Linked DNA regions of Homo sapiens: regions 1, 2 and 4 are each linked to region 3. Evidence: promoter capture Hi-C in 16 types of primary human blood cells and fetal thymus (Javierre and others, 2016). All regions are on one chromosome and are shown on one strand. Each heading gives the region's core, a stretch centred on a gene start or on the middle of the fragment in contact. The rest is flanking DNA. Distances are from core to core; before and after follow the strand shown.

The links. The method cuts DNA at HindIII sites, captures the fragments that hold promoters and counts their contacts. A CHiCAGO score of 5 or more calls a contact.
Region 1: a fragment that was not itself captured here is called in contact with the fragment with the promoter of CDH6 in region 3 in 3 of 17 cell types (M2 macrophages, M0 macrophages and M1 macrophages); the score reaches 9.1 in M2 macrophages.
Region 2: a contact is called between a fragment that was not itself captured here and the fragment with the promoter of CDH6 in region 3, in 2 of 17 cell types (M2 macrophages and M1 macrophages). The highest score is 8.2, in M2 macrophages.
Region 4: a fragment that was not itself captured here is called in contact with the fragment with the promoter of CDH6 in region 3 in 1 of 17 cell types (M2 macrophages); the score reaches 6.4 in M2 macrophages.

What each region holds. Positions count from the first base shown.
Region 1 is chr5:30,411,910-30,415,022 of GRCh38, forward strand. No RefSeq gene overlaps it. Among named protein-coding and RNA genes, the nearest start is that of CDH6, 780 kb to the right of the region's middle. The HindIII fragment of the contact is 1,442 bases long and covers 1,010-2,451 here.
Region 2 is chr5:30,389,448-30,392,694 of GRCh38, forward strand. No RefSeq gene overlaps it. Among named protein-coding and RNA genes, the nearest start is that of CDH6, 800 kb to the right of the region's middle. The HindIII fragment of the contact is 3,173 bases long and covers 279-3,247 here.
Region 3 is chr5:31,192,394-31,195,620 of GRCh38, forward strand. It overlaps CDH6 (cadherin 6), which reads left to right and starts at 1,293. Exons shown (of 12, transcript NM_004932.4): 1 at 1,293-1,493. The HindIII fragment of the contact is 5,513 bases long and covers 1-3,051 here.
Region 4 is chr5:30,460,483-30,463,829 of GRCh38, forward strand. No RefSeq gene overlaps it. Among named protein-coding and RNA genes, the nearest start is that of CDH6, 730 kb to the right of the region's middle. The HindIII fragment of the contact is 1,571 bases long and covers 1,311-2,881 here.

The sequences.
Region 1 (3,113 bases), core at 481-2,980, 780 kb before region 3:
CTTTTTAAAGAAATTACATTTTAATTAATTTCCAATTTTTAAAATTGAACTCGTGAAAAAATGATTTTTTCTATACTAGATTTGATGTGTTTCACTGAGAACAATATTATACTTCTCTGGCATTTTTTATTTAAAAAAATTTAACTTCTTAACTTTGAGTTTTTCTTGAGAATGTTGTATTTTATGTTCATATCTGTATGTTATAAAAATATTACTACATCTCTAAGAAAATTTTATCTCAGGTTTTAAACACTAACATTATATTTGCTATATCAGACATAATATATTTAAAACATATGGACTTGGAAAATATTATTTTTCTTTACCTGATTTCTTCTTAGTATCTATGCAGTTTTTGTATTTGCTTTATTTTTTCATTTCAATACCAAATTTAGTGAAATCTACCAACAACTGAGATAATTATGTGTCAAATATCAGAACATAAATGTATCAAGTCTTAAAATATACTTTTTAAGTGTTCTCATTTTTAAAAACCATAGCTGAATATAAATTATTTGCACTTTGAGGGCTTTCTTGCAAATATTTTAAAAGTAATTGCCTAGAACAATGTATCAGGTAATCTGAATATAATTAATCCTTTGTACTTTGTGATTGACCTTCTTATAGGTGATATACAAAGTAGAATAAGGATGTATGTATTCTACTGCATTAGTTTGCAAATAGACTTTTTTCTTATTGAAATATCATTATATTGCAACATTTTCATTTAGTTTTAAAGTACTAGTAACCTGAAATGATACGCTTGTATTGTATATTTTTAAACATTTTTTTGAAAAGATAAATTAATTGTTTCACTAATCCACTTTTGGAATTTACCCAGAATCTCCACCAAACTAAATTAATTCACATATTCTCTATATGTTGCTTTCAGAGATAATATAGACTATGTACTACCCCTTTCAGGCCACCACAGATTCATTGTAATCATTACTACAGTAATAAAGTACTACCCAGAGGATTAAAAGAACACATGTTTTACTCATTTACAAGCTTAGTAACAAAGCATACTGCAGATGCCATACAACAATTGACAGGACAAGCCCGGAATCTTCTCTTTCTTCAGTATCTAAAGAATTTTAGCCCCATAAAAATGTGACTCTTTTTCAAAGTTTTGCCACAATTCACTTTTATATCCATTGTCCCTTTCAAAAACATGCATAAATCTTATCAGAGCTTATGAATTTTCAAATGTCTCTTTTTCTATAATTTTTTTAATTAATGGAATAGAGTATAAATATATGAGTGTGACCCAAAAGAAACAAAAGATCAGAACTTTATGTCTTTTAACAATTACTTTGTGCTCATTTATTAGCATAATTTTGAAAATGTTAAGCTGAAGTATCAAAGAAGATTTCAAGAAAGGGTTTGTGTTAGTAATTTTTCCATTCATGTGATTTATACACATGGAAATATGGTGATAAGGAATGAAAAGAAAGCAAGCATAAATAAGTAAATACACCTAAACCTCATAATTAGAATATTTCAAGAAATTCACCCAAAGAAAGCCTAGAAATAATCAACAGAATTAATTTTACTCAAAGACCTGAGTTAAAATTTTCTATTTTAAATCAGTGTTCAGCTACCATATTATAGGCTGGAAGAAAGGACACTTGAATAGGGAAGTTGCCATGATGCAATTCAGAGATTTCCAACAGCAAAACAGGAGACAGAAGGGAGTACAAATGCCAAAAATAAAGTAATACTAAAGCAATATTTTTAAAAATTCAGGTAACCATGTAAGAACTTTCACAAGGAAGATGAAGATAAAGCATAAGGAGAGGGACGAGGAAATAGTAATTTCCACTAGAGGCCACTATCAACTGAGCATTCTCACAGAAAAAGAAGAAGACAAAAAAGAATTTTAAAGCTAGTTGGAACTTCCCATTTTAGCTCCAACATGTAACAAGGTTAGACGTTCTCACTTTCATTCTTGCAACATGAAGAAAAGCAAGCAAACTGAAAACCAATGATTTTTTTTGTTGGACACAGAGAAATGAGTTTGCAGGGCAAATTACCACCCTGAAATCTGGAAAGACAAGTGAATCGAGAAAAGTCACACTCAAAATCTGATTATCTGAAAGAGAAGCTGCTGGAGACATAGACTAGTAATAATACAGAAGTGGTGAATTTGTGAGATTTCTGGATGCTAAGTAGGAACTGCTGTATAAATGAAAAATCCTGAAAGGTACAGGTGAAGCGGAGTCCCCACACTTTTATGAATTTTACCTTTAGGAAATGTACCAGGTTTTTGTAGGGAAGATCCAGGAAATAGTCCTTTGTGCTTGGAGTAGGAGGAAAGGAAGAGCAATCCTTGGGAAGTGCACCCAGAGCCTTTTCCATTTAAAAGGCCGACTCTCCAGGGGAAAAGGCTGCCAGAGACTTGCCCCAGTCAGATGAAGGAAGAGCATTCTTTCCCTCCACTAGTTCCTAAGCTTTCTGTCTCATCAAACTAGAAACACTGGTGAAAGTAACAAACAACTGACAAATAAAAGACTGAGATTTAACTGAAATAAATATGTAAAACTCACCTTCCACAACACCTAGCTCAATATTATCAAGGCTCCAGTATAATAATAATGGAAAACAGCTGAAAGAGTTGTAAGGCACAGATAAAAAGAACGACAAATACAAGGTCACTAGAGGTGGTTGAAGCCTCTAGATATACCCACAGCAAACATTCAACAAATCTCCTACCAATATGAACGTAAATTTTCAACTAAAGGCCTATTAACCTTAGATCCCATTGCCTGGATATCAAGAACAAGTTTCAAGGCAATGTAAAAGGCAGAACAAAACAGTCTGAAGAGATAGTGCAAGTATTAGAACTAAACTGATAAGACTCACATTTTAGGATTATCAGACAGGAATTTAAAATATGACTAATATGTTAAAGGTCTAAATGGAAAAAGGAGACAACAGATTGGTAATATAAGCAAAGATATGGAAAACCTAAGAAATAATCTAAAGGAAATGCTAGAGATCAAAACTACTGTAACAGAAATGATGAATGCCTTCAATCAACTTAGCAATAGAATGGACATCACTGAGGAGTAGGTGAAGATACGTCGATAGAAACTTCTCAAACTGAAATA
Region 2 (3,247 bases), core at 615-3,114, 800 kb before region 3:
TAGACACCATTAATTCATATAGCTCCAGAATAAAATAAGCAGTCTGTGCTGCTGATATGACTATTTTTCTTCTAAAATTGTGTGCCTGGATCTAATATTGCTATCATGACTTTGTGTTCTGATCTTCTGTTTTATTTTTAGATTACTGAGCTTTTAGAGCACTTTGGTGTTTTATGGAGAAACAACGTGGTATGTGTGCTCTTCTCTTCTATATAGAAAAGTAAAGAACCTTGAGTCTCTAAGAAACTCAACTGCTGTGTCTGAACTTGTCTATATGAAGCTTTACTTTCTTTACTTTCTTTCCCCTTTCAATTTAGTACTACAGCTCCCCCTAATTTCTTTTGCAGCTTCCTTTAGCCAACTAAATATTTGTCAATTCTATCTCCATTTTTTATTATCCTTAACTCACACAAAGGGAAGCAATTCTTTTAAAATGAAGAACTTCATAATTTGAGGCTTGAATTCCTACAGAGGGTAATGTTGAAACTTTTAAACAAAGTAATCTACATCTGACCCGTACATGAAATGGGGTTATTATCAACTCATTTTATGAGGTTGTTACTATTTGTAAATCAAGGTTAATAACAATGTTGATTATGGATCAGATAATGCATGTAAATGAACTTGAACAGCATGTGATATACAGTAACTGCAAACTAAATGCAGTCTATTGTTGTTCTTCATTCTCCCATTGCTCCTCCAAATTCCTTTTCTACCCTTCTCTGTCCTGTTTCATGCCCTGGGAGGTTGCTGTCTGTGGAATGCAACACTTGAGCAAACTTGTCCGTGGCTTTCTGTTGGCTGCCCTTGGGAGGCATTCCAGGACATCAGACAGCAGGAGGAAAGAGTATTTGAAGTATTTATCACCCCTACACCTGAGTTGCTTCCATCAAGTAGCTAACATCGGTTATCTTGAGTCACAGGCCTGTACATGGCTCATCTATGATATTAACTCTCACTCACTCAGTTCACATTCCTCCCTAGGACCAGGCTCAAGACTGCTTTTAATGTTGCTAGTCTCTTGGTTGTCTCCTGTTGGTTCCATGTATTCGGTCCATGAAACTATAGATAATCCTTCATGAAACTGTCTTCAATCAAGCCTTTTCAGTGTATCATTTGATCCCTGCTATGAATTTGAATTCTATAACAATAATAAAAATTACCACCTCTACCACCACTAGTGCTAGAAAACCAGTACTAGAAAACCACTTGTGTTGTTATAAAAACTACTACTGTTACTACTACAATTACTGTTATTAATGCTAGTACTACTGCTGCTGCTACAATTACCATTACTGAAGTGGAATAATACCAGCAATAACAATAATGCCACTGTGCTAGTATGAGGATAAGTTGAAACGAGAAATTATATTTATTTTCTTCCACAAATAAAAGCATTCCAACACCACGCCTTTCAAATTTAGGGCGCCAATCATTTAATTTATTTTATTTTCCTGTATTTCTGGCAACTATTTTCATTTTCTTTTTCCTTCACTCACTGTCTAGGCAGGATTTCCCTTCTATTCCCACAACCACAGCTCATTCCACAGAAGAGTCTTTCCTTTTTGTCCAAATAAGTAGAAATAAATCAGTAGGGTAGTTTCATACTTTTAGTTACTTGACCAACCATTCAGTAAGTTAGGTGATATAATCGTAGACAGGAAATCATCACAAAGACATTTGTGACATGCTTCACCTTGATTTCATATTTTCTTTAACTTTTAATTCATTACTGTTCAAAATAGATTCCATCAAAGAAATATCCAATTGATATGATAAATACAATGTTTTATTGGACACATCTGTCTTGAACTAGTAATGTTAAATCATCTTAGCTATATTGTCACTTCTATGAATCTTTAAAATTCCTATATTGTTGTTCTCAGTGGCATCAGGTGATACATCTTAACTGCAAAGTGCCCTGTGTTCAAAACTCCAATTTTTCTATATCCTTATTAGAATTAGTATTTCAGCAAAAGTGCACCCAGCTTAATTTTAAAAATCTGTTCTGTCACATAGATTCCTGTTTTTTTTTTTATCAAGCGTCATTAATACAAGAAAAAAAATTCCGTAATATAGTGAGTGTTTTGATTGACACTCCTGCCTCATTCCATTTGGCAAGTTTAAGTATTTTATTATGCCATAGACATGCATCTTTTTATATGGTTGTAATTGTGATAGGCATATAAGTGACAGTATCAAAATTGTTCTTGTTTGGGAGTCTTGTTAGTTTGAAGCAGATGTCAAAATCTCCCTTCTCTAAAAATTATTAATTCCATCTTAACTCCTCTCCTGCACAAATTCTGGCAAATTGTGTTTTCCTCTACTTTTCATTTAGGAGTCCTGGAATTATATTTGCTCAATGATCAATTGATCTAACCCTACCTCGATCTTCTCCAATAAATTCTCACATAAATTGCAAACAAGTATTTACTTAAACAAGTATTTACTAAAAGCAGCCTTTTTAAGATTTTTTCTCTATTTCCTTTTTTCTCTCCTCTTTCTAGCATCTGAAGCCATCCTTTTTTGAGCTCAAACAGGTCCTTTTAAAATGCCACTTCAGATTTTCTCTGGGTTACTATTTTTCAAAAACACCTGCAATAAGGAGTATTTATTGACCACATACTTTAGGCGAGGCAGTGGGCGGGGTGCCTGGGATAAAATCATGACCAGAACCTGAAACAGTCCTTGCCCTCAAAGATTTAGAGCTTAATAAGAGAACAGCACTAGTCACATAATCTCACAAATGCATGTAAAATTATAATTAGAATAATGATTAAAAATATGTATTTTGTAAGAGTATATAGCAGAGTAGCCTCACCTGATCTGTATAAACAGGGTAAGCAAGTGTAGAAACCAGAGAAAGTTCTGTAAGCCACAATGAATATTTTTCTCTGTTTTGCTTAGAGCATTGAAAGTCCAATTAAAGATTGTAAAAGGGTGAAATACGATCAGACTTGCCATTTTAAAATTTAACTCGGATTTCCATTTCATAAGTGATGTAATGGCAAAATGGATGCAGGAGATCATTTAAGTGGCTATGCTCTGATTCTAGGTAGTTTTTTGTTTGTTTGTTTGTTTGTTTTTTGTTTTTGAGACAGAGTCTCACTCTGTCGCTCAGGATGGAGTGCAGTGGCGCTATCTTGGCTCACTGCAAGCTCCGCCTCCCGGGTTCACGCCATTCTCCTATCTCAGCCTCTCGGGTAGCTGGGACTACAGGCGCCCACCACCACGCCGAGCTAATTTT
Region 3 (3,227 bases), core at 43-2,542:
TTCCATGTGCAGAACATCTGTGCTAAAACCATTCCATGCACACTTCTTTGAAGCACTGGCTGCCTAAAGGAATACTTTTGATTTGGGCTTTATTTAAATGCCTGAACTTCTATTGGAGAAACAAAAGGTTTTCTAGTAAGAGCTCAGTTGGGAACAGGACCAACCTCCAGCCAGTTTAACTACTCAGAGGCCAAGCAGCCTGGCATTTCTTAGAGCTCTGTGCAATGGAAATCTCCCTGAGAACTTGCAGCACAGGCGAACAGCTGGTTTGGGAGGCTAGTGACCCTGGGTGCAATCACTGTGGTAATTAGATTTAATTTTCCTAATCCAACAGTGGCTGACTCCATCATGCCTATGTCTCCTATGTAGAAAATCATTACTCTCATTTAATGGTACTTTGACATGTTTCACATTTTTGTGGCTTAGTACCTTAACATTAGATATTACCTCTTTGTAACTATCAATCTAGCCATTCAAACAGCTATGTGTACTAAAGAGTTTAATTTGAAGGTTATCCAACTTCGGCAACTTTCCAGAAGGATCTTCGAACGTTAAGCAGACCTTGAATATCATTGTACACCCCTCTTCTGCAAGTCTTTTGTATGCTTGTATCAATTCATTTAGAACGATGGCATCAGTCATAAGTCATTGGCAAGCCTGAAGGGTTTGGGTTTTCAGTGTTTCTGCAAGCCCAGGGAAGCATGGCTTCATGCTACGACATCCTGGGGTCACTCCAAAAGAGTAACAGAGATCATGGGGCTACGTGAAAGCGTGTCTTCCTGGGAGGAGAGAAGGAAAGACATGTATGAATCTATCCATGTCTGCTTGCATCTGGAGAACGCCTGTTTATGTTGTAAAGAAAAGCCATCGGTATTGTCATCTCAGGAGACCGGCTTGTTTTATGTGTGTGCATGTTATACGTGCTATCACACGAAGCTGGCCAACTGATAGAGTGACGAGGTACTGTGTCCCTGGGAATTGTAATTGCTTGGTCGGTGAAAAAAAAAGAACATCAGACCATTGCTGATAATAGCACAAGGTGCATTTTGATAGTACAAAAGAGGAAACAGACGGAGTCATACAAGTTCTGAGTATATCTTAAACCCCCTCCAACAAAAAAAAGAAAGAAAGAAAGAAAGAAAGAAAGCAAGGGAAAGCCTGGGGCTGAAGGAGTGTTCCAGGGAGCGAATTGCTCAGGACTTCAAACACTGGGAGTCATTCTGTCAAGGGGAGGGGGCGGGCGGGGGCAGGCACTGGGCCTCTTTAACAAAGTCCTCCTCTCTTTGCTCCCTCCCACTTCATTCACTTGCAAATCAGTGTGTGCCCACAAGAGCCAGCTCTCCCGAGCCCGTAACCTTCGCATCCCAAGAGCTGCAGTTTCAGCCGCGACAGCAAGAACGGCAGAGCCGGCGACCGCGGCGGCGGCGGCGGCGGAGGCAGGAGCAGCCTGGGCGGGTCGCAGGGTCTCCGCGGGCGCAGGAAGGCGAGCAGAGGTGGGTTCGGGCTCCGTTGGCTATGCATACATCTCCCTTTTTTTTTTTTTAATTCTGTAGCGTTGATAGAAGCCAATCAGAGAGAGAGCCCTCTCCGCCCGGTGGGTGCCGCGCCGGAGTTGGGAGGGATGCTCTCAGCCTGCGAGCCCGGGTCGGGGCGGGCGCGCGGGTCCGGCTGCGCGGGCGGCGCTGCTGCCGCTGCTCAGGACCGACGCCGCTTCCCGGGGAGCCTGGGCACCGCTCCTCCGCCTCCTGGTAAGACCGATCCGCCGTGGGGCTGGGTGGGGGCACCGGGAAGCGGGCCGCCGCAGAAGAACCCGCTGCCTTTCTCTACGCCGGCAGAGGCTGCCAGGGGAGCTCTGGCATTTGCAAAGTTGGCTGGTCAATTACCAAAGGGCGCTGGTGCGTGCAGGTCCCGCCGAGCCGTTTGGGGCTTGATTTATCTCCACCTGCCCGCATCATAAGGGTCTGCGTGGTGACTGCTTGGGCTGAGTTACATTTCTTAGCTTTTGGGGTAAAGCAGAAAATCAGGTAGTCTGAAAACTCTGGAATGCTCCCAGTAAGGAAAACTTAAACTAAAGAGACGATTTGGCTGGTAGAAGGAGCTAAAGAAAACTGTTAGCTTGCACGTTCCGGGCAACGCCTGCCGGCTCATCTAGGACAGAAATGCTTAGGTTGCAAGGAAAGTCCAACACTGGACTCCGAAAATGGAGCACACTGTCCAGGGAAAAGTCATATGGAAGGCGCAGTTCGCTCGTGCTCCTCCACGGCTGGCCAGGCTCAAATCTGGGGGATAAAGCCTTCCCCGGACTGATTGGAGAGTGGTTGGAGTGCGCTTGGTTTTCGGTGCCAGATGCTGGAAAATTGGAGCCCCCAATGCGTTAATCCCAGAATTTAATAAAAAGGGACGCTGCAATGTTGTGGACTGCAGCAGTTGCAGAGCTGAGATTACTTCTTCCGTAGTTAGATATTCTGTCATGAGTTACCGTAGATCTCGAGATGGGAGATGCTGGAGAGGTCAGCGTGGTGCTAAGAAGTGTCACTGCTGCAATAAAATCCATATTTTATGGGGAGTTAAATGCAGGTCTCTGTCAGTGCAAAGGGCTGGCCACCTGAGTTAACTATGACTCAGAACATTCAAGAACCAAGAAGTTTAATCATCTGGAATAGCCACACATTTCTGTCTCCTACTCCCATTAAAAAAAAAAAAAATTTAAATGATGATAGTCATACTATAGAGGTGTATCAGACCGTGTCTCTGCGAATCTTCACTTTCACTTCGTAAAGCACACAGTGGGAAAGAAGGAAGAGGTTTTCCCTGCAAGAATGTTGCAGGAGTGGCTGTTGTGTACATATATGGCTGCTCTGGAGGGGTGCAGATCAAAATGTGGGCTTTCTGAGTGGTTAATTATCCAGGGGGTTGCAAACTCCTCCCTGTGTTGGAAAAAGGAACCCAGGGATATGCCTAGTTAATGTACAACTCTTCCAAGAAGGACTAACAAATATGCTTATATGAATAGTGCCAAGGGTTGCTTATTTCCTTTCTTTTCTTGCTGAAAGCTTTACCTGAAAAGGAAAACCCTTAGGATTTTACTTTGAGAGAGAGAAAAAAAATCTCTTCCAGTTTCACCTGAGACTTGAGCATCATCCCGTGTGTAATAGTACTTGCACGGCTCTATGCTTGCATTTTAGAGAACCGTAAAACCAGTTGTGTGAAGAAAGGGGTATGCTTGA
Region 4 (3,347 bases), core at 846-3,345, 730 kb before region 3:
AAGGAGAAAATAATAAAGGGTGAAAACATGTAGTCAGATAATATTATGCTGACTTGAGAAGATTTCTTAGACAAAACCAAGTAATATTATTAATACTTTCCTCAGTTTTCCTTCTCTTTACTTGATTATTTTCTCATGTCATGTAATTTATTCTAACTTGAGCATTAACTCATTCTCTTTTTTTTCTTTCCTATGGAAAAGGCTCTAAGAATCAGCATATACGCTAGTTATACATAATAGCAAGTAAATTGCATTTTTTTAGAGATATCTGCAGAAAAGAACCAATTTTTATTATCTTCATTACATATTCAAGTCTGGTTGGAAAATTTCATTCTAAAACTAGGTAATCAACCTACCTAAAGATTGTTCTTAAAGCTTTTTCATTAATGAACCTTTAGTGCAACCAGTGAAAGTTAAACTTTTCTCCAAGGGCCCATGTACTTAAAAGCAAACACAGATAAAATAATTTGCTCATAATTCCAGTAGGTTAATAGAACTTATGGACCCATCCATAGATTCAAATTAATCAAGCCCAAGCAAATCCTAGTTAAGTAATTTAAGACAACTTTAGAATCTTAATACATATTGATTTCACTTTAGCTTCTTTCTTGAGAGAATATCCAATCTATCGCACCATCCAGAACATTACATTTGTTTTCTAGTTTTCTTAAATAATGTCCAGCTTTTAATCAAAACCACTCAGAGTACAGAAAGATTAGACTTAAGTTTTAACATTCAGTCAAAACAAACAGTAAAATTTGACCTAGGGTAAGAAGCAGTTATTGGAGTTATCAGCCAAAGACTTTTAAAAAAATGATTTATAGTCACAAAATCAAGAGAAAAGATGAGAAAAGTTGGCAGAGGTCAGTAAAACAAGTACATAAATAATGTTATTGTGGGCTGGATGCAGTGGCTCACACCTGTATTTCTAGCACTTTGGGAGACCAAGGCAGGCAGATTGCTTGAGCTCAGGAGTTTGAGACCAGCCTGGGCAATATGGTGAAACCTCATCTATACAAAAAATACAAAAATAAGCCAGGCATGGTGGCACATGCCTGTAGTGCCAGCTAGGGAGGCTGAGGTGGGAGGATTGCTTGAGCCTAGAAGGTTGAGGCTACAGTGAGCCATAATCGAGCCACTTCACTCAAGCCTGAGCAACAGAGTGAGACTCTGCCTCAATAATAACAATAATAATAATGTTATTCTTAGTTATATGAAATATAAACAAAGATACAGAAGTAATATTTTAAAATGCATCAAGATACAAATTCAAGAACAGTTATAAACTTCAGGAAGGGTAAATTTCTTCAAGCTTTTTTTAAATAAATAAAACTTTCACGTTGGCACATCATTAAAGATTGCTGAAAACCAAACACAAAAAGAAAACTAAAAGAACCCAAATGGTGCGGGGTGGGATTATAACCTTCCAAAGTAAATGATTTTACTGAGAACTAACTTCACAAAAAAAGAAACAAACAAAAGAAAACAAAATATGAAAGACAAAGGAATGACATCGTCACAACAATTTTTGAAAAATAATGGCCAATCTAGAGTACAAGACAACTTTTAAGTGATTCAAAATAGTAATGAAAAATGTTAAATGCTATGTCCATTGTGAACACCTTTGGACAATAAAGAAAAAAAATATTTCAAGCAACCAAAGAAAGTGACAGCATGTTACCACCAATAGAAAGAAATTAATACAATTTAATTATGTGGAAATATAAAATAAAAAAGGAGTTTAAAAAAAGAAAGAAATGAAAGAAATAAAAATTCAAATATTTGACCAAACATAACAAGCCAGTACCATTAATAACAATATATTGTGAGGTTACAAATTCAATAAAGTTTTAACTGAACAAGAGAACTCAAGGCAGAAGAGGTTAAATGGAGCAAAATACACAATAAAATACTAATTTATAATATTCTTTCATAGTCAGGGATGGATCTTGTAACCTCAAAGAAAATAATACTAATATATAATTGTCCAGTCATATTCATGCTTTTTACATCTATGGAGTCAACCGATGGAGATCAAATGTATTTCCACAAAGAAACAAAAATATAAGTACAACTATACTGACCATTTACAGACTTGTTCTTGTAATTATTCCCTAACAATGCAGTATAACAACAATTTACATAACATTTACATTAAAGTAAGTATTGCAAGTAATCTAGAAATGATTTAAAGTACATGGGAGGATGTGTGTAAGTTACATGCAAATACTATATCCCAAATTTTGGTATCCAAGGGGGATCCTGGAACAAATCCCTTACAGATACTGAGGGATGATTGTTCTAAAAGAATACAGAAACAAAAAACTAAGAGCAAATAAATAAATTCTAAAACTATAATTTATAAATGTGAAGAAAGGACAGAAAAAAGGGACATTAAATACCTCTGATGAATACATAAGAATGTGATTGTATACATAAATAAAAATATCTTCATTACACTAAATGCTAATGGTTAAAATATTCTAACTGAAATATAAATAAGTGCCATTTGCCACTTAAAAGAGACACAACTTTTTAAAAAGAATATAAAAATGTTAAATATAAAAGGACAGATGCAGTATACTGTATACATTTTAACTCAAAGAAAGCTACAGTAATATTATACAAATTGTTAGACTTTAAGGCAAGAAGCACTATTAGAGTATAAGAGGAATATGTCTAATAATAAAAGTGACAATGCCCAAAGGGGTTAAATTCTAATTTAGGTAATACTAATCAAAGAAAATTTGACAGAAATAAAAGTGGAACTGGACAAATTCACAAACAGAACAAAAAGCCTTTAAAACGTATTTTTCACATTATAGAATAAGAATACCAACACTCAGTAAATAGTTATAAAAATTTAACAGCATCAATAGCAAGCTTGAACTAATTAGTCTATGTATAATAGCACATTCCGACATAGAATACTTTGATTTTTAAGTCAGAATGGAAAAATTAGCAAAATTAATCATATGTTGGGTCAGAAGACAAGTCTTAGGAGTTACAAAGGATTTAAATAATAAAATATGATTTCCAAAATGACAAAAAATTAGTCTTCTGTACATGTATGTTATGAAGGAACAACATTAAATTGAACCAAGCAATTGAAAAAATAATCAATATAGGTGTAAAAATAATAAAATATAAAATAAATATACTATGAAGAAGATCAACAAATGAAAAATTATTATTTTATAAATGAGTTAAATGGTAAAAATTATTTGACAAAATTAAAAAGACAAAAGATAGGCATAAATAACTAATATCAAGAATGATAAAGGAAATATTAGCAAAACTCCTGTAAAAATAAGATTATTTGAAAAATTATATATCAATTAACTTCA